Linked DNA regions of Homo sapiens: region 2 is linked to region 1. The links are contacts of gene promoters, found by promoter capture Hi-C in human tissues and cell types (Jung and others, 2019). All regions are on one chromosome and are shown on one strand. The core of a region is centred on a gene start or on the middle of the fragment in contact, and the rest is flanking DNA. Distances in the headings are between cores, read along the strand shown. Region 1 holds the start of KCNMB4 (potassium calcium-activated channel subfamily M regulatory beta subunit 4). Region 2 overlaps PTPRB-AS1 (PTPRB antisense RNA 1).

Region 1 (4,159 bases), core at 1,146-3,645:
AGCAGCTCCGCTTCAAGTAAGTAAAACTAATAAACACTTCCAGTGTTTCATTAAGAATAAAATAGAAATTGATTTAATTTGTGAAGTCTTAATACGTTTGACTTTCAATAAAGATGTGAAGATAAAAGTGTTCAGAGAAAAGCTAAATTAAAAACAGGAAACAGGAGAAAAAAATGTCTAGAGAACAGAAGACACAAGTTTCTTTAAATACTTTAAGAATAATTGCCAAGAAAGAAATTGACTAAATGCAGAACTGAAAGAAAATGAATTTTAAAACTTCAAGAATTTCAGTTAAAATAAGATAGAATTTTCTGATTTTGTTCCCTAGACTTAGACCACCGTACTTCAGTTTTGAGGCAGAGGTTTCATTCACAGAAGACTTTGAGCTCTGGAATCATTGAAAAACGAACCATATTCATTAAATTATTGGTAGTCCCCCAACTGCTGTGCATTAATAGGAATTAATTCTGCCTCATTTCAGTTCCTCAACATACTGAGCTAGAATAATTGTATCTTGTTATTTGTTCATCATTGCTTCAGATCTTAGACATAGCTTTTCCTTTCTTGGAAAAGAAGATTATAACAATAGAAAAAAAAGATTATTTCCTATGTTTTTTATTTTTCCTGCAATAGGAAAAAGATTCAGATTGAAGATTTGTGATTTTCGGTTATGCTATTTCAATTATTAAACTCACTTTTAAGCAATGTAATCACAATTGTCTTTATGCTAACAGGAAAAGAATACAATTCTTACATTTAAATTAAAAAAAGAAAATCTCAAAACCTGAAAGGTATTAGAGAACAAAGCATCTTCCTAATTTGGACGTTTTTCAAACTCTACATCTTCTTAATTTATTGAGAAAAAGACACTTAGGATCTTCCTGTAATTAATTTGCCCATTGCTGGGAAATACTTGTTACCTGTCATAATGTAGTGCTTCAAAATAACGTTATCAGAACTGCAGTCGAAAGGTACTCAATACCAGTTAAGTAACATTTGAAGTCCAGGAAAGAGAAGTCAAGAATTCCATGATTCCATGTTTCCGTATTCATCAGGAACATAATTAAGAGTTTATTCATTTGAGACTTACAAGCAAACAAAAAAAGTTTATGTAGTTTGCAAGGAAGTTAATATTCTGATTTTATTCTTCGAAATGTACATATAAATAGTTCTCAAGTTTGATTTTATGATAAAAGTGTAGTTTGGGAAAAGGTCATTCTAACTTTAAAAAGGTCGCGAAAACAATAGAGGCTGAAGCATTGTTAGCGTAATTGGGGGAGGAGGGAGCAACGGCAAGAATTAAGAGCAGAACACAGGTCTAGAAACAGTACCTGTCCCAAAGTGGGTCTGCCCGGCGCTGTCGCTTTAAGCAGCGCTCCTGGAAACCTCATCTACAAATCCTGGGGCGGGTCAGGGGTGGCAAGACTCCTAAGGAGGGAAACGACAGAAATGATTCTGTTCTTGCGAGCCCCAAAGCAAGAGTACTTTTCTGATGGGTAAAGTGGTATTTCTTTCCAGGCTGCAAAGCTCTCCACCTTTTTCCTTTGGTCTCAGTCAGCCCCAGCCATGGGGGCAAATCAAGTTGGGGTCAACTCGGCTGCCAGAGACCTAAGTTGCCACAAGGGTCACCGACGACCTAAGCAGCAAGTTTCCTTCGTCCAGCCTCCTGCCCCCACGCACATTGCCTCCACAGCAAACTCCACCTGACTCAGCTTGTTTAACTCCAATCCTGCAGCCCTCCCGGCCTCAGCAGGGTCAGGGGGCGCGGGTCTGCGCCAAGACGGTTAGGAGGCCCAAGTCCTGGGACTGGACGGTTACTGCGCTCCCTTGGGCGCAGCCGCTGGCGGCGTGGGCGCGGCTGGGTCACGCCTCCGGCACCACCGCGCGCCAGCCCGCCCGTGGCATGGGAACCTGCGATTCAGTCGTCCCCGGGGACCTCCCAGCGCACACCGCTAGCCTGGGGCTTTCACCTCGATCCGCCCGGCCTGGGCGGCTCGTGTCCTCCCACACCGCCACCCGTGCCCGCTTCCCGGGGTGCGCCCGGAGCCTGGCCGCTCTCCCTGCAGGTGACCAGTACTCGTTTGGAGTTCAAGATTCCCGCCGCTCCACTTGAACTCCACCCTCCCCTCTTATTATTATTATTATTTTAACTTCCCTCCGGTTAAGCTAAATTGATCTTAATCTTTCATCTCGGACGTCCCTCTAAGGGGAGTGAGCGAAGATTCCGATTGCAAGTCGCCGCTGTCGCTTGTGCCCGTCAGCCCCTCGCCCAAAGGAGACGCCCCCGGGCGGGGCGGGGCGGAGCGGGGCGGGGCGGAAGGGCCCGGGTCTGCTGCGGACGGGGCGGGGCGGAGCCTCCTCCTGCACGGGGGAGCCCCCGGGCTCGCCCCAGCTCAGACACTCCTAGCCTTGGGGCAGCTGCCGGGCGAGTCAGCGGAGTAGCGGCCAGCGGGCGATGGAGACAGAGAGACACCCGACGAGAGGAGGCGGGGTGGGGGAGGCGGGGAGAGTGCGGGGGCGGAGGCTGGCAGGGGGCGCTGGAAGCTGGAGCGGTCCGTGCGCTCCCCGCGCCCGAGGGTGCAGGAGGCTCTGAAGCGGCTGCTGCACCGCGGGGCCCAGGCGGCGGCTGGGGGGCTGGGGGGCGCTGCCGCCGCCGCCGCCGGGGGCGTCGCTGGCCTCGGCCCCTTTGTTCTCGCGCGCTCCCCCTCGCCGCCCACTCCCCTGCTGTCGCGCGGCGGCGGCGGTGGCGGCGGCGGCTCCTCCCGCCCGAGGCAGTCGGGCTCGGCGCCGGGGGCGGGAGGGGGCGGGGGGAGCACGCCAGCCGCCGAGAGTGGGGGGCGATGGCGAAGCTCCGGGTGGCTTACGAGTACACGGAAGCCGAGGACAAGAGCATCCGGCTCGGCTTGTTTCTCATCATCTCCGGCGTCGTGTCGCTCTTCATCTTCGGCTTCTGCTGGCTGAGTCCCGCGCTGCAGGATCTGCAAGCCACGGAGGCCAATTGCACGGTGCTGTCGGTGCAGCAGATCGGCGAGGTGTTCGAGTGCACCTTCACCTGTGGCGCCGACTGCAGGGGCACCTCGCAGTACCCCTGCGTCCAGGTCTACGTGAACAACTCTGAGTCCAACTCTAGGGCGCTGCTGCACAGCGACGAGCACCAGCTCCTGACCAACCCCAAGGTAAGAACGCCCCGCGCACCCAGGGGCTCCCCGCGAGGGAGGTTTGGAGGCAGCGTCGGTGTTAGACTCCGCGCGGGGAGGGTTCGGCGTGTGCTCGCATTGCTAGGAGGAGACCAGGTGGCGCAGGCTGTGCTCAAACCAGGAATGACTACATCAGGGAGCCCCAGGGCTCCGGTCTTTTCAGGTGGGTTTACGCGCGGCGACCAGTGGTGCCCAGAGGCTTACTTTAAAACCTGTCTTGCCTGGTCTCAGATTTTGAGGCCTCGACCCAGTCCGGGTCCTGCGCCTACCGGACTGGGTTTGGAGAAGTGCAAGGAGCCAAGAAAGTTAACTTTTCCTCCATTTAAAGCCAGTGGTTAGCGGGGATCCACCTACTCCAGCTCACGGTCAAGGTCCGAGCTTCAGCTGGTCTCATCTAGAACTCAGATGGAATGACCTTCCTTGAAAGGTCGAGGGGACTCTCGAAAGTTGTGAGAGAGTTCCTCACCTTTTCGCTCTACATAGGCATTTTCAACTTGGGGTTCAAAGATAAGCTTTTGTGGCTTGACAAACGACCCGGAATCAAATGTGGAATATTGCGGGTCCATTTTGGGAAGTACAGAGGGCTCCTAGTTTTCATGAAATAGATTCTCAAAAGAGTCTACAGGGAGCCTAGTTACCCTTTGTGTTTAGGGACAGTCAGGAGTCGTCTGGAGAACAGTAAAACTTGCTGAAAATAGAAAACCTTCAGTGAAATGTACCTAATATGACTTCTCTGACAACTTCTATTGGTCTCGAAAGCAAGCAAGAAGAAAAAGAAAAAGAAAAAAAAAAAAGATAAAACCTGGTTAGGACTCCCGGGATGGAGAGCAGAGAGAGGAAGTCTCAGAAAACTGTTCCCAATGGAGAAAAATAACTTATAAAAAGCAGTGTCCTTAGCCTGTGAACTAATTGAGCTTTGTAGTGCACCTGGTTCTGGTTCCGTTTCTACTTCCCTTGATCTT
Region 2 (4,159 bases), core at 946-3,445, 140 kb after region 1:
ACCCTTTTTGGATCTGCATTTCAGTTGTTTTGTTAATAATTGTCCTATTTGCATCATACTTTTGATTCTGAAATTGATCATGCTTTGTATTTCTAGATGTTTAAAGTCAACAACAAAAAAACTAATCATGATAGCAAGATCCTTAGAACTGATCCAACATGCTGCAGCTCCTTTGTAAGCAGATGGCCTGGTTAAGAACATTGCTGTGCCAGGCGTGGTGGCTCACGCCTGTAGTCTCAGCACTTTGGGAGGCCGAGGTGGGTGGATCACGAGGTCAGGAGATCGAGACCATCCTGGCTAACACGGTGAAACCCCGTCTCTACTAAAAAAATACAAAAAATTAGCCGGGCGTGGTGGCTGGTGCCTGTAGTCCCAGCTACTCGGGAGGCTGAGGCAGGAGAATGGCGTGAACCCGGGAGGGGGAGCTTGCAGTGAGCCAAGATTGCGCCACTGCACTCTAGCCTGGGTGACAGAGCGAGACTCCGTCTAAAAAATAAAAAATAAAAACAAAATAAAGAACATTGCTGTGTTCCTTGGAGTTGCCAATCAGTTTGACCTTGAGACCTCATGAAGATGATAAGCCATAGTGTCTCTCCTTTTTCTCTCTCTGTGGAATGAGATTACCTGGAAATGAACTTTCCTAGTAAAGTTTGTCAGACTTATATCTAAAATGTTAATCTTCAGTGCTTTTAGAAGAGAAAAATTTTAATCAAAAGGGGGAAGTGAGAATAAAAAATAGCTCAGATAAGTCTGAACTATGTGAACTTTGCAAAATGTGTCAGGCCCAGGGAGACATGAGTATGAGACTTCAGTCATGCACCCATTCCATGCCTAAATGCAATTGCTCAAAGGCATATTATTCTTTCTTTTCTTACCTGTGGTTTTCTGACTAGCTGCCTCACCCATTATCTTCATGTTCCTGGGATTTTTGATACAAAGAACAATGTATAGCAAATCAATAGTTTATGTTATTGTCATTTCTTGGTAAACAACCAAGGAAGTGCCTCTTCTTATTTCTTTTTTCTTTCTTTCTTTTTCCTTGGCTATGTCTTCTGCATGCCTGTTCTTTTTTCCTTTAAAAGCCCACTTGTAACTGCTGTAAAGTCGGGACATATATTTAGGGCAACTTGAGTCCATGCTTCTGGGTTTCAGTCTTCAAACTTGGCCCAAATAAACTCTCTCCTTATGTTAATTTTGTCTGTTTTTTCTTTAGGTTGACATGTCCTAGGGCAAAATTACTTACTTTCTGTATGCCTCTGTTTCTTCATTTATAGGATTATGTTGGCTCGGAGAATGATACCTCAAAGGCTGGTGCTGAGAGTTCTTAGAAGCTGCTTCAGAATCAAGGTTTAACCGTGTTTCTCCCCTTCCCTTACAACCCTAAGCTCAGGGAGGGACTCTTTGGATTTCCTTATCTGATGAAGAAAGCTTTCTAAAAGAAATTCTGTGGTCTTAATCCCCCTCCCTAAGGATCTCTCCAGAGATCAACCACTGGAGAAAAGATACTAGGAGTCATCACCACATCTAGACAGAGTGCTGCTCCAAGAGATTAACTGAGGGATTTCATCTGCATAATAAGTCAACCTTTTTTCCGGGCGCAATGGCTCACGCCTGTAATCCTAGCACTTTCGGAGGCCCAGGTGAGTGGATCACCTGAGATCAGGAGTTTGAGACCAACCTGGCCAACTTTGTGAAACCCTGTCTCTACTAAAAATACAAAAATTGCCAGGCATGGTGGTGCACGCCTGTAATCTCAGCTACTCGGGAGGCTGAGGCAGGAGAATTGCTTGAACCCGGGAGGTGGAGGTTGCAGTGAGCCGAGATCGCACCACTGCGCTCCAGCCTGGGTGACAGAGCGAGACTCTGTTTCAAAAAAAAAAAAAAAAAAAAAAAGACAATCTTTGTTTCTGTGCAGCTCTGCCCCTGTAATGTCTACTTCAACTTCCCAGGTCCATTCATTCTCCCTAATGGTTTATTGCGCCTCAAAAGAATTGTCTACATTCCCTATCTTCTCTTCTATGAAAAAGGATATATAAGCTTCTATACCATACTGGGTTATAGAGCAATCACTGTGATTTTCCCTCAAGCATGTTAATAATTTGTATGCCTTTTCTCCTATTAATTTGCCTTTTGTCAGTTGATTTTCAGCACATCTTCAGAGGACAAAGAAGCAGCTCTTTTCACTCCTACAATGGGAATGATAATCTCCACCTTATTTAGTTTTAAAAGAATTAAATGAGATAATGCAGCTAAAGCAGTTCAGAATAAAACCTGACATGTAGTAATACTAGTTGCTAATGATTATTAAGTGCTTATTATGTGCTAGGGCTCAAAAATATTACATGTTTCTATTCCTTTTTGTCAAACAGGGCATGTTCAAAGAGTTAAATTTGACAGATGAGAATCTACAAAGCAGGGAGGTTGCCCAAACTCAATACTGAATATCATGCATCAGAATCACCTTGGAGGACTTGTTAATAAAACACAGATTGCTGGGCCCCATCCCCAGATTTTCATATTCAGTAGGACTGGAGAGTGCTATCTAAGAATATGCATTTCTAACAACATCCCAGGTGATGCTGATGCTGCTGGTCTGGGGACCAAACTTTGAGCTACGTGGGCATAGAGGTTAAGAGGTCACATTTTGAAATCAGAAGGATTCATATTGGAAGCTGAGCTTTAATACTAGATGGCCTTGGGAAAATTACCTTGTCTTTTTTTTTTGAGATGGAGTCTCACTCTGTTACCTAGGCTGGAGTGCAGTGGCGTGATCTCGGCTCACTGCAACCTCTGCCTCCCAGGTTCAAGTGATTCTCCTGCCTCAGCCTCCCGAGTAGCTGGGATTACAAGTGCATGCCACCACGTCCAGCTACTTTTTTGTATTTTTAGTAGAGACAGGGTTTCACCGTGTTCGCCAGGATGGTCTCGATCTCCTGACCTCATGATCCACCTGCCTCAGCCTCCCAAAGTGCTGGGATTACAGGCATGAGCCACCGCACCAGGCCTACCTTGTCTTTTTAAGCTTCAATTTCTTTGTCTCCAAATAGGTATAACAACAAGAGTTGTATAAAGAGTTGAATTAGATGAGACATATAGAACATTTGGCACACAATTAGTGCATAATGTGCATTAGCCATTGTTCCTATTCTGCTAAATTTTGGGCCACTCTCCAGTCTTTTCTGTGCATCTACCTCTGTATTTGTAAAGTGAGGATATTAATCTGTATTGTATGGAAGTTGAAGGCACTCAAAAATAGCCTCAGGTGCCTTTTATTTATTATTATTATTATTATTATTATTATTATTTTTAGACAGAGTCCTGTTCTGTCGCCCAGGCTGGAGTGCAGTGGCACGATCTTGGCTCACTGCAACCTCTGACTCGCGGTTTCAAGCGATTCTCCTGCCTCAGCCTCCTGAGTAGCTGGGACTACAGGCACCCATCACCATGCCCAGCTAATTTTTGTATTTTTAGTAGAGATGGGGTTTCACCATGTTGGCCAGGATGGTCTTGATCTCCTGACCTCGTGATCCACCCACCTCATCCTCCCAAAATTCTGGGATTACAGGTGTGAGCCACCATGCCTGGCCTTATTATTATTTTTAAACTTATTTTTGGTTCAGGTTTGTTATCCAGGTAATCTCGTGTCACAGGATTTTGCTGTACAGATTATTTCGCCAAGTACCTTGGGTGCCATTTAAAAGTAAAAAGCTCTGTCTAAATCAGTGGTCCCCAACCTTTTTGGCACCAGGGACCAGTTTTGTGGAAGAAAATTTTTCTATGGACTTGGGGGGTGGTGGAAGGAGGGGGATGGTTTCAGGATGAAACTGTTCCACCTCAGATCATCAGGTGCTAGATTCTCATAAGGAGTGCTCAGCCTAGATCCCTCACATATGCAGTTCATAACAGGGTTCGCAGTCCTTTGAGAATCTAATGCTACTGCTTATCTGACAGGAGGTGGAGCTCAGGTGGTAATGCTCTCTCACCCATTGCTCACCTCCTGCTGTGCAACCTGGGTTTCTAACAGGCCACAGACCAGTACCTATCTGTCGCCTGGGGGTTGGGGACCCTTGCTTTAAATGTTACAGCTTTTAATGACCATCCTAGAGGTTGAACTTCTGGTCCCCTTAAACAGGTCTTGGAATGTCTTCCTCTTGGGTTG

What was found. Contacts are between HindIII fragments. The study calls those that stand out against the background at their distance.
Region 2: a fragment that was not itself captured here is called in contact with the fragment with the promoter of KCNMB4 in region 1 in 1 of the 25 tissues and cell types used here (H1 embryonic stem cells).

The regions. Positions count from the first base shown.
Region 1 is chr12:70,363,895-70,368,053 of GRCh38, forward strand. It overlaps KCNMB4 (potassium calcium-activated channel subfamily M regulatory beta subunit 4), which reads left to right and starts at 2,396. Exons shown (of 3, transcript NM_014505.6): 1 at 2,396-3,176. The coding sequence starts at 2,841. RefSeq lists a silencer at 2,212-2,451. The HindIII fragment of the contact is 14,293 bases long and covers 1-4,159 here.
Region 2 is chr12:70,508,938-70,513,096 of GRCh38, forward strand. PTPRB-AS1 (PTPRB antisense RNA 1) reads left to right here. Exons shown (of 9, transcript XR_001749196.2): 3 at 1,275-1,347. Among named protein-coding and RNA genes, the nearest start is that of PTPRB-AS1, 43 kb to the left of the region's middle. The HindIII fragment of the contact is 3,647 bases long and covers 373-4,019 here.